Linked DNA regions of Homo sapiens: regions 1, 2 and 4 are each linked to region 3. The links are contacts of gene promoters, found by promoter capture Hi-C in blood cells and fetal thymus (Javierre and others, 2016). All regions are on one chromosome and are shown on one strand. Each heading gives the region's core, a stretch centred on a gene start or on the middle of the fragment in contact. The rest is flanking DNA. Distances are from core to core; before and after follow the strand shown. Region 1 overlaps ADGRD1 (adhesion G protein-coupled receptor D1). Region 2 overlaps LINC02370 (long intergenic non-protein coding RNA 2370). Region 3 holds the start of RAN (RAN, member RAS oncogene family). Region 4 has its middle 16 kb from the start of LINC01257.

Region 1 (4,641 bases), core at 239-2,738, 260 kb after region 3:
GCAGTTTCCCAGCAAGGAGGGGTGCTGGCAGGAGATGATGCCCCTCTGCCGCAGCTTCTGTGGCTCGCACAGCCGCAGGCCTGGGCCGGGGCGGGAGATGAGAGCCAGCTCCTGTGCCGGGGCCTGGCACATTGAGCAGTCGTTTGCACAGTGGGCACTATCCTTCTCATCACCTGGGGCACTGAGGCTCCGAGGACCTGGGTGAGTTGCCCAGGGTCACACTAACGAAGCAAATGCTAAGATGAGGTCTGGCCCAGGCTCATGCCCTCATGCCCGGATGTGTTCCTGGGACTAGAACTCGTCTCTGCTGTCTTCTCAGTGCAGGTGCTCTCAGAGGCAAGCTTGCATGTTGTGTGTGTTGGTAAAAGCCCACGGAACAGGGTGAGATTTGTCCCAGTGATGCCCCTGTGTCCCAGGAGCCCTGGCTGGGCAGGGGTAGCCTGTGGTGAGGGCAGTGGCCAGGCGGACGCAGCTCTCCTGCAGGTGCAGCCCAGGCCCCCCTCACCTTCCTCCATGGTTTCTTGTGCAGGTCAACATTGGCATCCTCATCGCTGTGACCAGAGTCATCTCACAGATCAGCGCCGACAACTACAAGATCCATGGAGACCCCAGTGCCTTCAAGTAAGTTGACCTCAGGCTGCCAGCAGTGCCACGGCCCTTCTGCCCCCAGAGGATGCTTTGAGGTCACAGGAGAGATAGCCACTCCTGCCTCCTGTGGCCGGCACCAAAGTCCTCCACTTGCTCCGTGTCCCTGCCATCTCAGGGCAGCTCTGGTTTCACGCCCTCGCTTGGCTCTCGTGACCCAGGACAGGGCCTTTACCCAGCCCCAGAGCTCCCATGTGTAGAAGAACGGAGTCTACGGAGTTCTCCTAGGGATTTCTTCACCCCAGGGTGATGAGCAGCTGGGGGGCGGCAACGGGGAAGATTCTAGAGCCAGAAAGCCCCTGCCAGTCCCGCATCTGCCCTGGCCATCTGCTGGGCTCAGCGAGTTTAGCCCCTCAGCACCTCGCCTTCCTCACGTGCAGAACGGGATGATAACAGGTTCCCCCTCAGCTGGCACATCAGGGAAGGTGCAAGGGAGAGCAGTGTCCTGGTGTGCTCTGGGCTGCCCCGCCTGGAGAAGGGGCGGGGTCTCTGGGAGGGATTCCAGCCACACAACTCACTGCCATCGGGGGTGTCCTGACCTGCATCTCTTACGGCCCAGCCGATTGCAGGTGACAGAAATCCCAGCATGCACTGGCCTAAGCAGAAGGGGGACTCACTGACGCAGCTGACTGTGAAGTCCGGAGCTCAGAAGCCCTGGCGTTGCAGGAATTCTTTGGCAGTTGCAGCACCGGGCCCAGCTCGCCTTCGCATCCTTAGTGTTGGCTTCAGGCCGAGGTCGACTCTGCCCCCTGGTGGCCGAATGGCTGCGGCAGGGGTTCAGGCCCACGGGGGAGTCCCTGTCCCACCTGCTGAGACGGAGGCCTGCGCCTGGAGGACGATGGGGACTCAGGCTGGACCTGTGCCCTCCCTGAGCCAGACCCTGTAGAGGGGGATTCACTCATATGACCGTGTGACTGTTCAGTTAGCACCCCCAAACCACAGGGCTGAAAGCTGGGGAGGCTGTCCCTCGCAGGGAATTCAGGGGCTTTGTGAAAAGCAGGGCGTGGGTACCAGGCAGCTGACATTCTGTACTGTTACTTCAGCCACCGCGTATCTGTTCTGATGTGAAAGCAAAAGTGGCAAATATGTCAGCAGCGAATCTATGAGAGAATTAGTCTGTAATGAATTCCAAACACCATAAATTAACCTGACAAGAGGCTGCAGCCTCCTTGGGCTGTTCAGCTCCTGGAAACCTTCAAGGGTTGTGCCCCGTGCGAGAAGAGATGCTCGTGGGGTCAGAGATCACGTCCTTTCCTCTTCCATTGCTGAGACCAGGATGGTCTCCTGGACCTCTCATGGCCTGGCTGGGGAGGGACCTGTCCCTTCCTCACCCCAGCCCTCAGCTCCCCAGGCCCTCACCTCAGCGTTCAGGGTCAGCCAGTCTGTTGCCAGCTTGTCTCCAGCAAAAGCTCACAATCCCCTGTCTGAGCCCCATGAGGCCACTACTTCCACTGTCACCAGAACACCCCTGTGCACCTGCCCCGCACCTGTGCACCGCCTTCCATCTCTACCCCACTGCGCCCCATCCTCCCATCAGTGCCCACCCAGGAAGCAGCTTCTGTCCACTGCCTTTGCTTCTCCATGGAAATGTCCTCCAAGCGACAGGCTGGCACTGTGTCTGCAGCTCTTGTGAAGGCTCGAGGTAGCGTGCCCCGGGAGAGCATGCCCAGGTCTTTGCAGGGCACAGCTGAAGGCATTGCCCATCCTTCCCACCTGCGTCTGCACCTGGCAGCCCAGGGATGCGTCCCTTCCGGGGAGGTGCAGGCAGGCATCTCTGGGGACAGACCGCTCTGGGTCCCTCTCCATTGTGCAACCCAGCACATTTCCCAATGCCTTCAGCTCCTCTCCTTTGGGCGGCCAGGTCTGCCCCTCAGGGATGCTTCCTCACAATCTTCTTAGTGTGGATTGTGTAACACTTGACTCCCAGGGCTGAGGAAGCACAGCCAGGGAGCAGGCGCCAGGCAGGAAGAGGCAGTCACTGCATCGTGAGGAAGCTTCCCCAGCACCTTGCTATTCTTCATCCTCTGGTTTTATTCTAGTGATTTTCTTAGTGCCAAGCAGCCCAGTACTCAGTGAATAACAAGATAAGATTCTTCCTCAGGGGCCCTCCACAGGGTTGGCTTTCACTTCCCTGCCACCCCCCTACCCCAAGAAAAGTGGAGAATAGAATAAGTGAGGTCTGAGCAGGGGGAGAAGCCTGGCTTTCACTTTTTAAAAAAGTCTCTGTTTATTGATTGTGATTCCAGACTCCTGAAAAAGAAGCAGAGAATGGTCAGGTTTTACAAGTGGGACCCTGGGGGCGGGGGCGTGAGGGTGAGACCCCCACAGAAGTGCACCCACGAGCAGGTGGGCTGTGGGGCCTGGAGACTCAGGGCCTGAGCCCCCTAGGCCAGGGCCAACCTTGGGGGAGCAGAAGGGGGTCATAGATCAGAGAGGAAAGCACACCCCCTGCCTAGAGCCTCCTTCAGATCCAGGGACCCCTCTTCTTCTGCTTTTGACCAGGGACACTGACAGCTCTGGCCGTGTTGAGAGTCCGCAGAGCTTCAGCTCAGCGTCTTCCCCCAAGATCTTCTTCTATTGTTCATTTTAAGAAAAGTCAAACCATCACTTTAAAAGTAGCACATTTTGGTACTTATTTCTCAGTGATTGATCCTTTCAGATACGGTTTCCCGGGACCTAAAGATTGTAGCTGAATAATGCATGATATTGTTGTTTCCCAGAAACAGGTGTTTTATTTTTATTGCATTAGCATTATGAGAACAAGCTGGCTGCGGCTTCTCTGAGAGCTGAAGTGCTGGAACACTTCTGGGTTTTACAGGCACCGGTTGCCCGGAGCTGTCAGTGCCAGGCTCTTGGTCTCTTGACAAGGAAGCTCATTATGGCCGCATCTCACCTCCTCCGGGGAGGTGCCAGATCTGTGTGCAGCACTGCTGCATGGCCGTCCACTTGTTCATCATTCATTCATTCATTCATTCATTCAATGTTTATTTCCTGAGAGCCTCTGAGTCCTGGTGCTGGGATGCACTTTGGGGTTACAGAGACAAAAAGACCAAGCTCCAGCCTTTAAGGAACCCACAGTCTATGAGGGAGACAATCTCAGTCACTGGCCTGAGTGATGAGGGGTAAACCGAGGCATGTGACAGTGGCTGACCTGGGCAGCAGGAACTCCGCTAGTCTCTAGACTTTTCTCTAAAGCTCAAAGGCAGAAGGTCCCTGCTGTGGAAAGCCCAGCTGTTTCAGAAGTCAGGATGGACTGGGCTTGAGGTAGTTGGCCATGATTGACACAGCACATCAGGAATGGCTTTGAGGCAGGCAGCTGGTGTGCCCAGTCAGAGCAGGTGCTAACTGGCCCAGGTGGGGACGTCTGCATACCCTCTGGTTCTGCCCCTGATGAAACCCTGTATCACCTTAGCCATTACCAGGGGCTGTGGGGCCTCAGTTTCCTTATTATACAATGGGGTCAATATATAACCTGCCTCTCCTGTGTCAAGAGGGCCCATGGGCTCTAGGGAGATAAAAACGCATGCTGATGGGGCTGGTGTGTTCAGCGATGGGGCTCTGTCAGTTCACAGTGCAGTTCAGCAAGCCCTTGTTTAGCACGTCCTTTGAGCATGAGCAGGGCCATGAAGATGACCACTTGGCCCTGCCCTCTGAGAACTCACCGTCAGTGTCACAGGAGGGCTCGGGTGATCAGCGGGGGACACGCGGGCTGCAGCCCAGTGAGGCCTGGAGAAATCTTCCTGGCCATGGCCTCATTTCAGGCCCAGGCCTCATTGCACCCTTCCAAGCGTCTCACAGGAGGCCTGGGTTCTGGACGCTGCGGGGGATGCTCTGCTGCTTCAGTCCCCCGAATCTCTCCCCTCCGTCCTGGTTCCTCCTCATCTTTGCAAACAGCTCAAATGCAAGCCCTGGGCCTGGACAGATTCTCCCTATGGCCTAGGTGAGCCCTGGGTGCTACCTGAACTTTTCCAGAGCTCTCTCCCACCCACCAGCTGT
Region 2 (4,633 bases), core at 207-2,706, 480 kb after region 3:
CCTCATCATGGTGATTGGATAAGAGGTGGGCACATGACCAAATCAAGCCAATCATAGTCCCAAACATCCTCATCACAGTGATTGGATAACATGTAACCACATGACCAGATCAAGCCAATCAGAGTTACACACACTCTCATCACAGTGATTGGATAAGGGATGGGCACACAACCAAATCAAGCCAATCAGAGATGCACTTCCTCCTCCTCGCTGGGACTGGATATTAAGGGCAGTAGATACTGATTTTCATTTTGGAAAATGATGCAAATTTTCCTTTTTAAAATTGAATTATGTAAAATAAGGTAGTTGATGGAAAGGAAAAAATTAAGTAACAGGTGATAAGCTAATACCTCAAACATGGAGCTCTGTGAAAAGCCAGCCTTGAAGCCCTGAGTTAATCCAGCCACTAGAGCCTCCCTGAATCCTGGCTGAGCCACTGGCCCTGGAGGGTGCAGGGGACGTCGTCCACCAGGTCTCCCTGCAGCTCCGCAGCAGGCTGCGGGTACCAGCCATTCTAAATGCAAAGCACATGCCCGCCCGATGAATTATGAATGGTGTTTACAATTCCTCCAACACAACCGGGCCATCAGTCATTTATAGCTGCACCAATGGCTCTGCCACTCTGAGGTCGCTGGAAGAGAAGGACTGACCAAGCCTGATGGGTTGGAGGAGAAGCCAGCGGAGGTGCCGGGATGGCCTGGCCGGGCCTGCTGGAACCAGAGGCAGGCCGATTCCAGGACCAGTGTTCTTTCCTTGGAAAACACGGAGTGAGCTTCCTGACGTCGCTGACCACTTCCATGAGAATGGAAGAAGGAGGATGCACCCCGGAGGGGCAGAATTTCTTGTCCTGGAATGCCGGCAGTCAGCCCCTCACTCCCGTCTTCCCGCAGAGGAGGCTCTTTGCCTTCTCAGGCTCTTCAGGAAACAGATTCCACTCGTCACCGATAAACCAGCTCCAGGTTTCGTTGTCCTTGCTGCCAGGCTGCCCGGCTGTGTCTGGCCTTACCTGATGGTCTGGCACCACAAGTGGGTGCTGCGCTGTATGCTCACCAGTTGCTGCTCCTCCTTCCTTGGTACGTGGTGAAGCCACATTGCCCAGCCTGCCTGGCAAGGAGATGTGGTCACATGGCTGCGTTCTCATCAATAGATGGGATGGGGACCGTTTCTGGCCGAAGGAAGCATGATTACCGCCTTTATGATGTCTTGTCCATTCTCCTGGAAGGACACAGACATCAATGAGATGGTGATTCACATCATGGAAGGGGTTTGAGTCTCAGAAATACACCATGGAAGAGAGTTACCTGTCTCATAACCACTTGGACTGCCATAAAGGCAAGACATAAGCTTCTATTGGATTTGAGTCATCATGTATTGTATGAATGTGTGCAGTTATTTAGAGAGAAACTTGCTTACTGACACAGACACCATGTGTTGAGTATCTAATATGTGCAGAACATTGTGCTAAATGCTTTGCATATACAGCGTTGCCTAAGCCTCACAACAACCTGCAGGCCTGGAGACCATTATTTTCCCACTTTAGAGATGAAGAGATTTAGATTTAGAGAAGTTAAGCTTGCCCTGGGTCACACACCTACTAATGAATAGAATTGGGACTCCACAGCTCAGGTTCTCAGTGCCAGCTAGAGTGTCCTCAAAGCAACATGATGAAGGAGTATTAGCCATGAAGATATTCTTTCTCCCTGCTCCATCCAGCAGGGAAGGGGCCTCCCTGGAGCTCCACAGCAATAGGCCCCAAGAAGGTGGGCAGACAGGAAGGGAGGCCACGTGTGCCATTGCACTTCAAGCTCAGCCTGGGTTGGGGCCTGCATGCCAGTCAGGAACCTCTTTCTGCAAATGGCAGAAACCCAGTTCCCAGTGGCCCACACAGAAAAGGCCACATACCTGTTGTTCATCTACCCCAACGTTCCAAGCAAGGCTGGATCAAGGTGTTTCTTGATGAACTCAGGAGTCTCCTTCTCCATCTCTGTCTCTGTTTTCCCTGAAGAGGAAACAAGGCAAAAGAAACTTGAGGCTCATGTTCTGAAAGCTAGATAGTGAAGTGCCCTCTCCTCTGTAGCAATCACTGAAGACCATCATCTACACCTGCAGCAGCATCGTCACCTTGCAGCAGCAACTCAGGGTCACTGACTTGCCCCTGCCACCTGCAGCAACCACTCGGGCTGACTCACCTGCCCCTGCCACCTGCTGCAACCACTCGGGGTGACTCACTTGTAAATGCTGCTGCATAAGCAATAAGGGTGCACCCAGGGAGGGAGCAGCTGGAAGGGAAATGCAGAGAGAAGTTCTGGGGGTTCCAGGTGGGACGAGTGATCAGCTGACAGCCCTCCAACCACGATGTGCAGTCCCCCATACCACGACCCCTGTCCCCATCCTGCCTCTGCTGAGGAGTCTGAGAGCTTAGTCCTTGGGGTCACCCTGTTCATCCCTGCATATGTGCAGATCTGCTCTCACGCTCCTGAAGTGCTGGAATTCGTGCAAGTTCAGAATCTCAATTATTTCTGACCTCAACCCTGTAAGCCTCATGTAAGTCTTCTTCCTTTGTCTGAACTCACACTAGCCACTGAAGGGAGAGATCTGGTGACTTCATTCAACATTTGGTTATTAAGCACCCCCCTGTACCAGGCTCTGTCCCAGGCGCTGGGGACACAGCCCCAGGAGAGCCATGGCTCTGCTCTCCTGGAACTTATGTTCCGGTCCAGTGAAGAGACATACAAGTATGTGAGAAAATGAATACGATAATCCTCAGTTGTCAAAAGGGCCGTCGATGAAACAGAATGGACCATGTAACAATGTGGCTGGGGAGAGGCCATTATGAGCTGGGGCAGCCAGGAAAGATCTCTTAGAGGGTATGATATTGGCACCAACAAGGAGCCAACAGCATGCAAACCTGGGCAGGTGCATACCAGGCAGCGGCATCACCAGGGAAAGGTCATGCAGCAGAAACCAGTGTGGCCCTGTGAAGAGCAGAAAGGAGGCTGAGGGCAAGGAGAGGAGGCCAGAGCTGCAGCAGGTCAGCAGGGGTCAGGCCCCGTGTGCCTTACAGGCAGGGGAAAGGGTCTAGCTTTTGCTAAGTGCCCTGGCCACTGGTAATATGGGGAGGCAAGACAGTGTGCAACATGCTCTGCCCCCCGAGGGGCCTCCCAGGCTGCACTGCAGAGAGAGGTGGGAATGGAAAGAAATGAGTTTTCAGGCTACTGCACTGGTCCAAGCAGGAAATAAGTGTTGCTCAGACTACAGCGGTGGCAGTGGAGATGGAGGGAGGACATTTTTTCCAGATCTATCTTGGAGCTGGAGATGACAAGATTTGCAAATGGATTGGCTCTGGGGAGAGACCGAGAGAGAGAGAGAGAGAGAGAGAGAGAGAGAGAGAGAGAGAGAGAGAGAAATAAAAATAAAAAAGAATTGGTCTTCTGATCTTGTCTGAAGAGGAGGAAACAGGTTTCAGGGAGATGCAGGTAGGCTGATGAAGAAGCACTGGTATTGGCTTTCATGCACGTTTGGAAGCCTTGGGAAGGCCTACATATTCTCTGGAAATAAATTGCTCATGATTCCAGTTAATCATCCACAAAATAATGCAAGGTTTACAATAAATTGTATTTCCCAGCTACTGAGAAACAAAGCTGGTAGGAATGAACGGAGCCCACACTGACGCGCGGCCGAAACACACGTTCCATCGTTCTGAGCTGAAGGGGGGCAGCCTGGACAGAGCACATCATGGGGAGAGGCCGCTGTTCCCTGCTGTGCCAGGCCGGGGTGACTGGCGGTTGATAAACAGCCCCACTCCTTACAAAGAGCCCTGGAGCGGGAGCTGGCACTGCCGACGTGCCATTTATCTTAAGGCTTTCATGGAGGGAAAATATGTTTTAAAAGCTGCCTGGAAAAGGACAATTATTAATGAAACTCTTCTATCAGTGTCTTCACTCGTTTGCTGGGAAGGGAGATGCTGACATACAAGAGTGAGGCCAGGCAGGCTTTGGAAGGGGTCGAGAAGGTGGCCAGGAGCGCAGTGTCCTCCCTTGGTTGTCACTGGTCTGCAGGCCACGGACGCCCTCTCTGAGGACAGCTTTTGGAGTAAAGGCCGCTATGAGCTTCATTCGCCTGATGTCTGGGGAAGCCCGGGGCTGGCTTTGCAGGAGCCCCCTCTCATGACACCGAGGGGCCTTCTCTGCAGCTCTCTGCTGCACGTCCATCACAGAGCAGCGGCATTCCCATCTCTGGTGCAGATGGCTCCACTTGCAGGCCCAGGCAACAGCATGGACCTCAGGACTGCATGGGGCAGCTTCTTCTGGGAGGCCCAAACGTCAGCAGTGGACACACAGCTCTCCAGACCAAGTCACTCCTGGGTGAGAGGCCCGACGCTGTGAGGGTGATGTCCTCACTCAGGCTGGTGGCAGCATGGACAGCTGCTCCGCATGGAGGGACGCAGGCCCAGCTTGTCCCTGAAATCCAAACCCAGCAGGCCCAGGGCTGCCATCAGAGACGCTGATTCTAAGGTGGAGGGAGATTTCCAGGAAGCAGGAGGTCCATCTGGGGAAAGAAGCGAATGCCACCCAGGATGGTGGAGGAGCACAGAGCAGAGTGAGCTGCAGGCATGGGGGGAGCTGGCCCAGAC
Region 3 (4,862 bases), core at 1,606-4,105:
TTTAGAGACATGGGTTTCACCATGTTGCCCAGGCTGGTCCTAAACTCCTGAGCTCAAGTGATCCATCTGCCTTGGCCTCCCAAAGTGCTCGGATTACAGGCGTGAGTCACTGCACCCAGCCTGATTAGATGGAGTTTTGCTCTGTCGCCCACGCTGGAGTGCAGTGGTGCGATCTCTGCTCACTGTAAGCTCCACCTCCCGGGTTCACGCCATTCTCCTGCCTCAGCCTCCCGAGTAGCTGGGACTACAGGCACCCGCCACCACGCCCAGCTAATTTTTTGTATTTTTAGTAGAGACGGGGTTTCACCGGTTTAGCCAGGATGGTCTCGATCTCCTGACCTCGTGATCTGCCCGCCTTGGCCTCCCAAAGTGCTGGGATTACAGGCGTGAGCCACCGTGCCCGGCCCTGATTACCATTTTTTAAAAAAGAAATGGAACATTGCAGGTAAGGTTAAACTCTTCTATGACCTCTCTCCGCAGTTCCTGGGTGACAAGAGCGAGAATCTGTCTCAAAAAAAAAAAAAAAAAAAAAAGAAGAAGAAAAAAAATTGTCATCCTTGCGCAGGGGCCATGCTAATCTTCTCCGTATCATTCCAATTTTGGTATACGTGCTGCCAAAGTGACCACTCGATTACCTATTCCAATATAATGAAACCCTGTTTCTACTAAAAATAAAAATAAGATAAAAATAAAAAAAATAGCTGGGTGTTGTGGCGCATGCCTGTAATCCCAGCTACTCAGGAGGCTGAGGCAGGAGAATCACTTGAACCTGGGAGGCGGAAGTTGCAATGAGCCGAGATCGCACCACTGCACTCCAGCCTGAGCGAGAGTGAGGCTGTCTCAAAAAAAAAAAAAAAAGGAAATAGAACATTGCAGGTAAAGTTAAAGTCTTCTTTGACTCCTCTTCTCAGTTCCATCACACTCCTTTCTACCCTTTCTTGAAGCAATAACCATCAGGATATGGTATATAGATCCTTGCAGTCAATTAAAAAAAACAACAAAATACATATATCCAATAGCCAATATGCTTTTGTTTTATGTGTATTTGTAAAAAATATACATAAATGACATTATACTATATATATAATCCCTCTAGATAAAGTTACATATAGTGTTAGGTTTTATGTATTAATTTTTGAAAACAGGGTCTTGCTCTGTCTCCCAGGCTGGAGTGCAATGGTGAGATCATTGCCCATTGCAGCCTGTAACTCCTGGGTTTAAGGGATCCTCCTACCTCGGACTCCCAAAGTGCTGGGATTACAGGTGGCCTAGACTTTATAAAGCTGTTATCACCTCTTTCTTCTTTTCTCAACACTATCCTTTTGACATCTATCTAACCCTGTTGAAACAGATGACCGTCATTCCTTTTAAATGTTATACAGTATTAAATGTTGTGCACATGCGTGAGGCATGAGTTTAACTCTGGGGCCTCTCCCTAGAAATGGAAATCCGGGGTCACAAGCAATGGGCATTCCCGTTTTACTGTTAGATTCTGCTCTCCCGCCAGCAGCGTCTGAGAGGTGCTTGGGGTTCCCCTGAGGGTTCTGGGGGAGCTCGGACTTGCGTTCCCAGCAGGCCGGTTGTCGCCTGCTTTGTGCCTAATTTGCGTCACTGGGGTTCCTAGCGGACTCGCCTGCAAGTGTGCTCAGGACTGCAGGGAGGACTCTTCGGTCACTGCGGCTCTCTCCCCATGGTGGACTCTTCTGAGGCGCTTGACTGCGCTGATTTGGGCCTTTATCTGTCTGCATGTCGGCAGGGGCGCCCAGGAAGTCGGGTCCCTCTAGCTCAAGCTTGTTTGGGCTCTTACAGCTTCAGGCCAACAGGGGGCTGGGAAGCTGAGCACTTACTCATTCCGTCCCCGTTGGTAACTAGGGCTGGTAGACGCGTCCAGACTGCAAACAGTATTTCATCATTTTGTCTGTAGCATGCAGCGGCCAAAGCTGCCAACCTATGAAACGCTTTGAGAAGCCGGACGCTTTGGGAGGCCGAGGCGGGTGGATCCCCTGAGGCCAGCCTGGGAGACATAGTTAGATTCTGTCTCTCAAAAAAATTTTTAAAAAATTACCCCTGATGTGGTGCGCGCCTGTAGTCCCAGCTACTCGGGAGGCTGAGGCGGGAGGATCGCCCGAGCCTGAGAGTTCGAGACCAGCCTGGGCAACGTAGCGAGACTCCGTCTCTTAAAAAAAATAAGTAGCCGTTTTTCTGGGTGGGTGCATCCCTCTCTGGTTCCTCGCTCTCCAACTGGCCCTGGTCCTGGGGGCGTGAAGGCTACGATCTGGAGAGACAGAACAGCGGGCTGCCTCTGGAGGACGGGCCTAGACCCCATTCATTCATTCATTCGTTCTGTCACCCACCCGTCCTGCGCGCACGCGAGCCACCCTAAGCCCCAGGACCTCAAGAACCCCCACCCCACGGGGCACAGACAAGGACAGGCTGGCCAGCGCCTGGAAGCCGCGTGCCTGACCACGTCTGCCCGAGCGAGTACCGCCTCCCACCCGGGAGGCAGGAGAGCCGCGACCGTCGGGCCGCGCCCAACGTCTCCCGCTCAGGGGCGCGCCGCCTCGCTTTCAGCGCATGCGCGCCCGGGAGCCCGCCCGGGGCGTCGGCGCACGCGGTCCCCACCGGCCGGCTTGCGTACGCGCTCCCGGCTCGCCCTCCCACGCGGTCCACCGCGCCTCCCGCCCCACCCTAAGCGCAGCGACCGCCCGAGCGGCCGACCGAACCGCGTTGCGTGCGTGCGCGCACGCGCGGGCCACGTGGGCGGGCGCCGCGCCGTTGCCCCGCCCCTTGCAACCCCGCCCCGCGCCGGCCCCGCCCCTGCTCTCGCGCCGGCGTCGGCTGCGTCTCCGGCGTTTGAATTGCGCTTCCGCCATCTTTCCAGCCTCAGTCGGACGGGCGCGGAGACGCTTCTGGAAGGTATCGCGACCCGGCGGGCCCGGCACGGCCGGGCGGGGACAGGGGTGGCGGCGGCGGGATAGGGGTCGGAGCCGGGGCCAGGGCCGGGGCGGGTGGCGGACCCAGGGGCAGCGGGCGGCTGAGTAGGTGGGTGGTGCGGGCCCGGCCGGGCCGGGGCAGGAGACGGGCGTGGGGTCGGCGCTAGCCCCCGCGAACCCCCGTTTCATCCTCCGCTCTCATCCCCGTCCCGGTCCCAGTCCCGTTCCCATCCCTACACCTCCGGCCGCCGTTCCCCGGGCCCCGCCGCCCCGGATGCCGGCCCCGCCCGCCGCCTTCCCGCTCCCAGGCCTGGCCGCCATGGCGCCGCGGGCGGGAGGCCTTTGTGGGGCGGGCACGTGGGGCGCTGGGGGCGCGGGAGCGGGGCCGCCATGGGCTGCGGGGCCGCGCGAGCGCTCGCCTCCGTCCTCTGCCTCCGCAGGAACGCCGCGATGGCTGCGCAGGGAGAGCCCCAGGTCCAGTTCAAAGTAGGTAACCCTGCGGGGCGGGAGGCGGCCGAGCCCGACCGCGTGCGACTCGCGGGTCCCTCCTCCTGGGGCCACGATGGCTGTAATGGGGCCCCGCATCCACATTCTTTGTTTTAAGTGAGCCTGTGGTGGTTAAAGTTCCGTGACTCTGGGATCTTGAGAGGTGAAGTGTTTAGGGTTTACTTCCAAAATGTGTTTTTCAACAGCTTGTATTGGTTGGTGATGGTGGTACTGGAAAAACGACCTTCGTGAAACGTCATTTGACTGGTGAATTTGAGAAGAAGTATGTAGGTATGTGCTGGAAAACCTTGCTTGTGGAAATATGTGAGAAATGGGTAAGTTCATCCACTCAATCGCATCGTTTCCGTTTCAGCCACCTTGGGTGTTGAGGTTCATCCCCTAGTGTTCCACACCAACAGAGGACCTATTAAGTTCAATGTATGGGACACAGCCGGCCAGGAGAAATTCGGTGGACTGAGAGATGGCTATTATATCCAAGGTAGGCATTTGTAACTTGCTGAACGGTTTTTGAGAGGTTTTGTGTACTTCAGTCTTCAAGGTTATAGAAAATCAGGTCTGTTCCAACAAATAGTGTCATTTTTGGGTTAAAAAAAGACAAGTGGACTTCGGGGAGTTGACCACCATTTTGGTGGCAGAGAAAATTTTATTAAAGTTGTGTCATTTGCATGCTGTGTCATGCTAGGCATGCTTTAGAAAAAACTATGACTTACACTGGGACTTATAAGTCATATTTAAAACAATAATAGGCTGTTAACAGCAGTTTCAGTATTTGGAAACTTAGGTTCATGTATGTATTTTGGTGTGGTGATCAATGAATGTTTTTACTGTATTAGAAAACAATAAACACCAGATACTAGACCAGAGGAGATAGGAGATCTTAACAAGTGTTATACAAGACTAGCTGATTTCTTGTTAAATTGTTTGTACTAAGTTGTGCAGAGTATTTTTCTCAAATAGTTTGATTTAAAAATTGCAAGGAAAATGTTCATTGTACCAAAAAGAGGAATCAAGAAAATACTCATCTCTCTTGGAACCTCACGTTGCCGATAACACATTATCTGGAATCATTCCATGCCTTTTGCTTTCCTTGAGCATGTACAAATAAACACAAGAATTTCCCCCAAAAGAATCCTTTAACCAAAAAGTTGTGGTTTCTTGCCTTGCTAACTGTACCATAGTTATTCCTGCAGGTGAATATATAGGCTTTATCTGGGTTATTTATTTATTTAATTTTTTTTTGAGACAGGGTTTCGCTCTGTTGCCCAACCTGGAGTGCAGCTTCCGCCTCCTAAGCTCAAGCCATCCTCTTACCTCAGCATCCTGAGTAGCTTGGACTATAGGCACGTGCCACTATGCCTGACTAATTTTTGTATTTTTTTGTAGAGATGGGGATTCACCATGTTGCCCATGCTGGTCTGGAAC
Region 4 (4,868 bases), core at 1,937-4,436, 280 kb after region 3:
AGGATGGTCTCGATCTCCTGACCTCGTGATCCACCTGCCTCGGCCTCCCAAAGTGCTGGGATTACAGGCATGAGCCACCGCGCCCAGCCTATTTTTCTTTATTTTATTTTTACATTTTCTTGATATTTTGGATATATTTTATAAAATAATCGTTACTTACCAAGTTTATACTTTTTTCGGGGTCAGTTCTCCATTTCCTGCTTTCAACAAAGGTTTTATTTAGTCTGCTGTGGTTTTCATTCTGCTGCACAGCACATTTTATCCAGATGGGTTCTTCTTGATGTGATGCAGTGTGTTCTTTTATCTTATTGATAAAAGAAAACAGCCATGCTGTGAATTTTACTTGCTTCACAAGAAAATCTTTTCCAAGAAGAACATTTTCTTCTTTTTATGATGTGTTTGCGTTGCAAATCTTTTGCAGTGCCAGTACTTTTTTTCTTACTCATGAGTTTACTCTGGAGATCAGGATTGTTTTCCTGAATCTCAGTGGATTTTCCCATGGCTAGGGTGGCTATTAATTAGACTTTCTGGAATACAGGGATGGGACTAGATTGTGGGTTGAGTGGAAATAACTCTATGGCAGACCTCCAGGGTACTGATCCGTGGTTCCCAGCCTGTGGTGGGCCATGCAGAGCTGCTTTTTTAAACAGGGTATCTGCTAATCAATATCTACCCTAAGCATTGTCTACAGTTTGAATAAGCAATGTGTCTCCTACATCTAGGTGCCTGTCTTTCCAAATGTAGATCATGCTGTAATTAATAAGAAGATCACTTAAAAGCTTCATTGCAGTCATAACTGTAGATTGACCTTGTGTATTTTTTAACTGGTGAATATTTATCATACAGTTCCTCTCATGGGAAGGAGAGAGAGTTCAACCAGTCATTTTTATTAGTGAAAGTCAGGGCCCTCCAGCATAAGCAATTAAAATCAGCTCTGTGTAAATCAAAAGGTGAGACTTGGCTGCATATCGATCCCATTATTGACCTGATGGTTTTGTCTCCATAAAGAATTCCTGCTGTCCACAGATTGGATTCCTGTGTTTCGTTCTCCGTGTCTCATTTAAAAAAATAAACATTTTATTTTAGAACATTTTAGGTTTATAGAAAAATTGTGAAAATAATACAGAAGGTCTCCATGTAACCCACACCTAGTTTTCTCTATTATTAACATCTTATGTTAATATGGCACATTTGTTACAGATAATGAACCAGTATTGATACTGTATCACCTAAAGTAGTACTTTATTCCAATTTCTCCAGGTGTTCCCTTGTATCCTTTCTCCCTTGCAGGATACTATTTCAGATGCCACATTACACTTAGTAGCCATGTCTCCTTACAGTCCTCCTGGCTGTGACAGTTTCTGAGTCTCTCCTTGTTTTGATGACCTTGACAGTTTTAAGGATTAATGATCAGGTATGTTGTAGAATGTACTTAAGTTGGGATGGATCTGATGTTTTTCTCATGCCTGACTTGGGTTATGGGTTTTGGGGAGGAAGACTATAGAGGTAAAGTGTCATTCTCATCGCATCATGTCAAGGGTATGTACATACTATCAACATGACTTATATGTTGACTTGTATGTTGACATATGACTTATATGTCGATGATGACCTTAATCACTGAGCTGAGGTAGTGTTTGTCTGGTTTCTCCAATGGGAAATTACTCCCTCCCTGTCTCCCCATTCCATCCTGTTTAGAAGGAAGCCACTGTGCACAGCCCACACTAAAGGATTGTGGAGTTATGTTCTACCTCCTCAAGGAAGGAGGCTCTGCATAAATTATTTTGAATTCTTCTGCATGGGACATGTCTATTCTTCCCCATTTATTAATTAATTCAGCCATTGATATCAGTACAGACTCATGGATACTTACTTGATGGATTATTATCCAATACTACTTTAATGATTTTGTTGCTCAAATTATTCCAGCTTTGGCCATTGAGAGCTTTCTCAGTTGGATCTTGTGTCCGTCTGACATGCCACTGTGTGTGTGTGTGTGTGTGTGAGAGAGGAGCACTTCCTCTATTAGATATGTGTTTTGCAATTATTTTCCTCTCGTCCGTGGCTTGCCTTCTCATTCTCTTAACAGAGTCTTTCACAGAGCAAAAGTTTTATTTATTTATGTTTTTAACTTTTATTTTAGGTTCAGGGATGCAAATGCAGGTTTGTTACAGGTAAACTGCATGTCACAGGGGTTTGATATACAGATTATTAAGCATAGTACCCAGTAAGGTAATTTTTCACTCCTCACCTGCCTCCCTCCCTCCACTCTCAAGTAGGCCCCCCACTGTCTGTTCTCTTCCTTGTGTCCATGTGTGCTCAGTGTTTAACTCCCACGTATAAGTGAGAACATATGGTATTTGGTTTTCTGTTCCTTTGTTAGTTCACTTGGGATGATGGCCTCCAGCTCCATCCATGTTGTTGCAGAGGACATGATCTCACTCTTTTTTATGCTACGTAAGATTCTGTGGTGTATATCTATCACATTTTCTTTATCCAGTCTACCACTGATGAGCATTTAGGTTGATTCCATGTCTTTGCTATTGTGAATAGTCCTGTGATCAACATACATGTGCACATGTCTTTATGGTAGAACAATTTATATTCCTTTGAGTATATACCCAATAAGGGATTGCTGGGTCAAATGGTAATTCTGCTTTGACTTCTTTTGAGAAATTGCCAAAGAGAAGTTTTATTTTAATAAAGTTCAATTTATCAATTTTGTCTTTTGTCAATTGTACTTTTGGTATCATGTCTAGGAACTCTTCAGCAAAACCTAGATCCAAAAGATCTTCTTCTAAAAGGGCTATCGTTTCAGCTTTAAATTTAAATATAGAATCCTTTAAAAAATAACTTTTGCATAAGGTGTGAAGCTGAAGTCAAGACACATTCTTTTTGCCTGTGGATGTCTTAATGGACATCCAGTTGTACTAGCCTCATTTGTTCGAAGATCTCTCCTTTCACTATTGACTTGCCTTTGCTCCTTCATCAAAGATCAATGGACTATACTTGTATCGTTATAGTTCTGCATTCTCCATTCTATTCCACTGACATATGTGTCTATTTGTTTTCCTTCCAATACCACACTGTCTTAATTATTTGGCTTTATGGTAATTGTTCAAATCAGGAAGTATGAGTCCCCATACTGTGTTCTTCCTCAGAATTGTATTGGCTATTCTAGGCCTTTTGCCTTTCCACATAAATTTTAGAATCAGTTTGTCAATATCTACAAAATACCTTGCTGAGATGTTGATTGGGATTTCAATGAATCCACAGGTCAATCTTAAACAATTCATTTCTTAACAATATTGAGTCTTCCCATCCATGAATATGGAATATGTCTCCATCTATTTTGACTTTTAGAATTAGAATAATTTCTTATTTAAATGTTTGGTAGAATTTAGACTTACTTTTTAATTCCAATGTGTATACTTTTAATTAATTAATTTTTAGAGACAGGGTCTCACTCTGTCACCTAGGATGGAGTGCAATGGCATGATCACAGCTCACTGCAGTCTCAACCTCCTGGGATCAAGCAATCCTCCCGCCTCAGCATCCCAAGTAGCTGGGACTACAGGTGTGCACCACTGCACCTGGCAAGTTTTGACCTTTTTTTTTTGTAGGGATGAGGTCTCACTCTGTTGACCAGGCTGGTCTCAAACTCCTGGACTCAAGTGATTCTCCTACCTCAGCATCCCAAAGTGCTGGGATTACAGGCATGAGATACCATGCCCAATGTCTATTTTTAACTAGTTTTTATTTTATTTTTAGTGATTGCCCTAGAGATTGTAATATAGATTTTAACTAATCTAAATCCATCTTCAAATAAGAGTATACCACAGATATACAGGTATCTTACAACACTGTATCTCAATTCCCTCTGGCCCCATGCCCTGTTATCATCCAGTTCACTTGTCTATGTGGTATATAATTATCTAATACATTGATGCTATAAGTTTAAACAGCTATTTTTAGATCAATCAAGAACAAAAAAAAAAAGTAAACATTTTCTTTCACCTCCATTTATTTTTCTCTGATACTCTCCCATTCTTTATGTAGATCTAAGTTTACATCTGATTGTATCATTTTCCTTCTCTCTGGAGAAATTCTTTATACATTTTTTACAGGGAAGTTCTGCTGGCTAATTCCCTCAAGTTTTGTCTGAAATAGTGTTTATTCTCCTTCACTATTTTATTTTATTTTATTTTATTTATTTTTTTATGAGATGGGGTCTCACTATGTTGCCCAGGCTGGTCTCTAACTGCTGAGCTCAAGTTATCCACCTGCCTCAGCCTCCCAAAGTGCTGGGATTACAGGCATGAGTCACCACATCCAACCTCATTCACCTTTATAGAATCATTTTGCTGGCTATTATGTTAATTTTACATTGGTGATTTTTTTCTTTCAATAACTTGAATATTTCACTCCACTGTCTTTATTTGCCTCTATGGTTTGTGACAAGAAATCTGCTATAATTCTTATTCTTGCTCATCTATAAGTAAGGCGTTTTTTCCTCTGACCAAGATTTTCTTTTTGTCTTTGCTTTCTGCAATTTTAATATGAAACATCAAGATTTTCTTTGTATTTATCCTGCTTTGTATTCTCTGAGCTTTCTGGATCTGTGGCTTAGTATCTGTTATTAATTTTGGAAAGTTCTCAGTTACTATTATTTCAGATGTTTCTTCCAACCCTTTCCTCTAATTTTTTTCTGATGCTCCAATTACACGTTACTTTTTTTTTAACAGTTGCCTCACAGGCTTGGGTGTTATTTGTTCCAATCTTTTTTCTCTTTGCATTTATGTCTGGGAAATTTCTATGACCCTATCTTCAAGCTCACTGATTGTTTCCTCAGCGGCATTTGGTCTACT

What was found. The method cuts DNA at HindIII sites, captures the fragments that hold promoters and counts their contacts. A CHiCAGO score of 5 or more calls a contact.
Region 1: a contact is called between a fragment that was not itself captured here and the fragment with the promoter of RAN in region 3, in 3 of 17 cell types (total B cells, naive B cells and naive CD4 T cells). The highest score is 8.0, in total B cells.
Region 2: a contact is called between a fragment that was not itself captured here and the fragment with the promoter of RAN in region 3, in 1 of 17 cell types (megakaryocytes). The highest score is 5.9, in megakaryocytes.
Region 4: a fragment that was not itself captured here is called in contact with the fragment with the promoter of RAN in region 3 in 1 of 17 cell types (monocytes); the score reaches 6.4 in monocytes.

What each region holds. Positions count from the first base shown.
Region 1 is chr12:131,131,196-131,135,836 of GRCh38, forward strand. It overlaps ADGRD1 (adhesion G protein-coupled receptor D1), which reads left to right. Exons shown (of 25, transcript NM_198827.5): 21 at 530-621. Among named protein-coding and RNA genes, the nearest start is that of LINC01257, 31 kb to the right of the region's middle. RefSeq lists an enhancer at 959-1,591. The HindIII fragment of the contact is 2,298 bases long and covers 340-2,637 here.
Region 2 is chr12:131,351,785-131,356,417 of GRCh38, forward strand. The region is part of intron 2 of LINC02370 (long intergenic non-protein coding RNA 2370); the gene reads left to right. Among named protein-coding and RNA genes, the nearest start is that of LINC02370, 6.6 kb to the left of the region's middle. The HindIII fragment of the contact is 228 bases long and covers 1,343-1,570 here.
Region 3 is chr12:130,869,211-130,874,072 of GRCh38, forward strand. It overlaps RAN (RAN, member RAS oncogene family), which reads left to right and starts at 2,856. Exons shown (of 7, transcript NM_006325.5): 1 at 2,856-2,916; 2 at 3,374-3,419; 3 at 3,626-3,710; 4 at 3,793-3,918. The coding sequence starts at 3,384. It also overlaps the pseudogene RNU6-1077P. RefSeq lists enhancers at 1,896-2,657, 2,081-2,160, 2,658-3,419, 4,648-4,717 and silencers at 2,441-2,900, 2,971-3,110, 3,161-3,370. The HindIII fragment of the contact is 6,850 bases long and covers 1,789-4,862 here.
Region 4 is chr12:131,146,102-131,150,969 of GRCh38, forward strand. No RefSeq gene overlaps it. Among named protein-coding and RNA genes, the nearest start is that of LINC01257, 16 kb to the right of the region's middle. The HindIII fragment of the contact is 4,819 bases long and covers 778-4,868 here.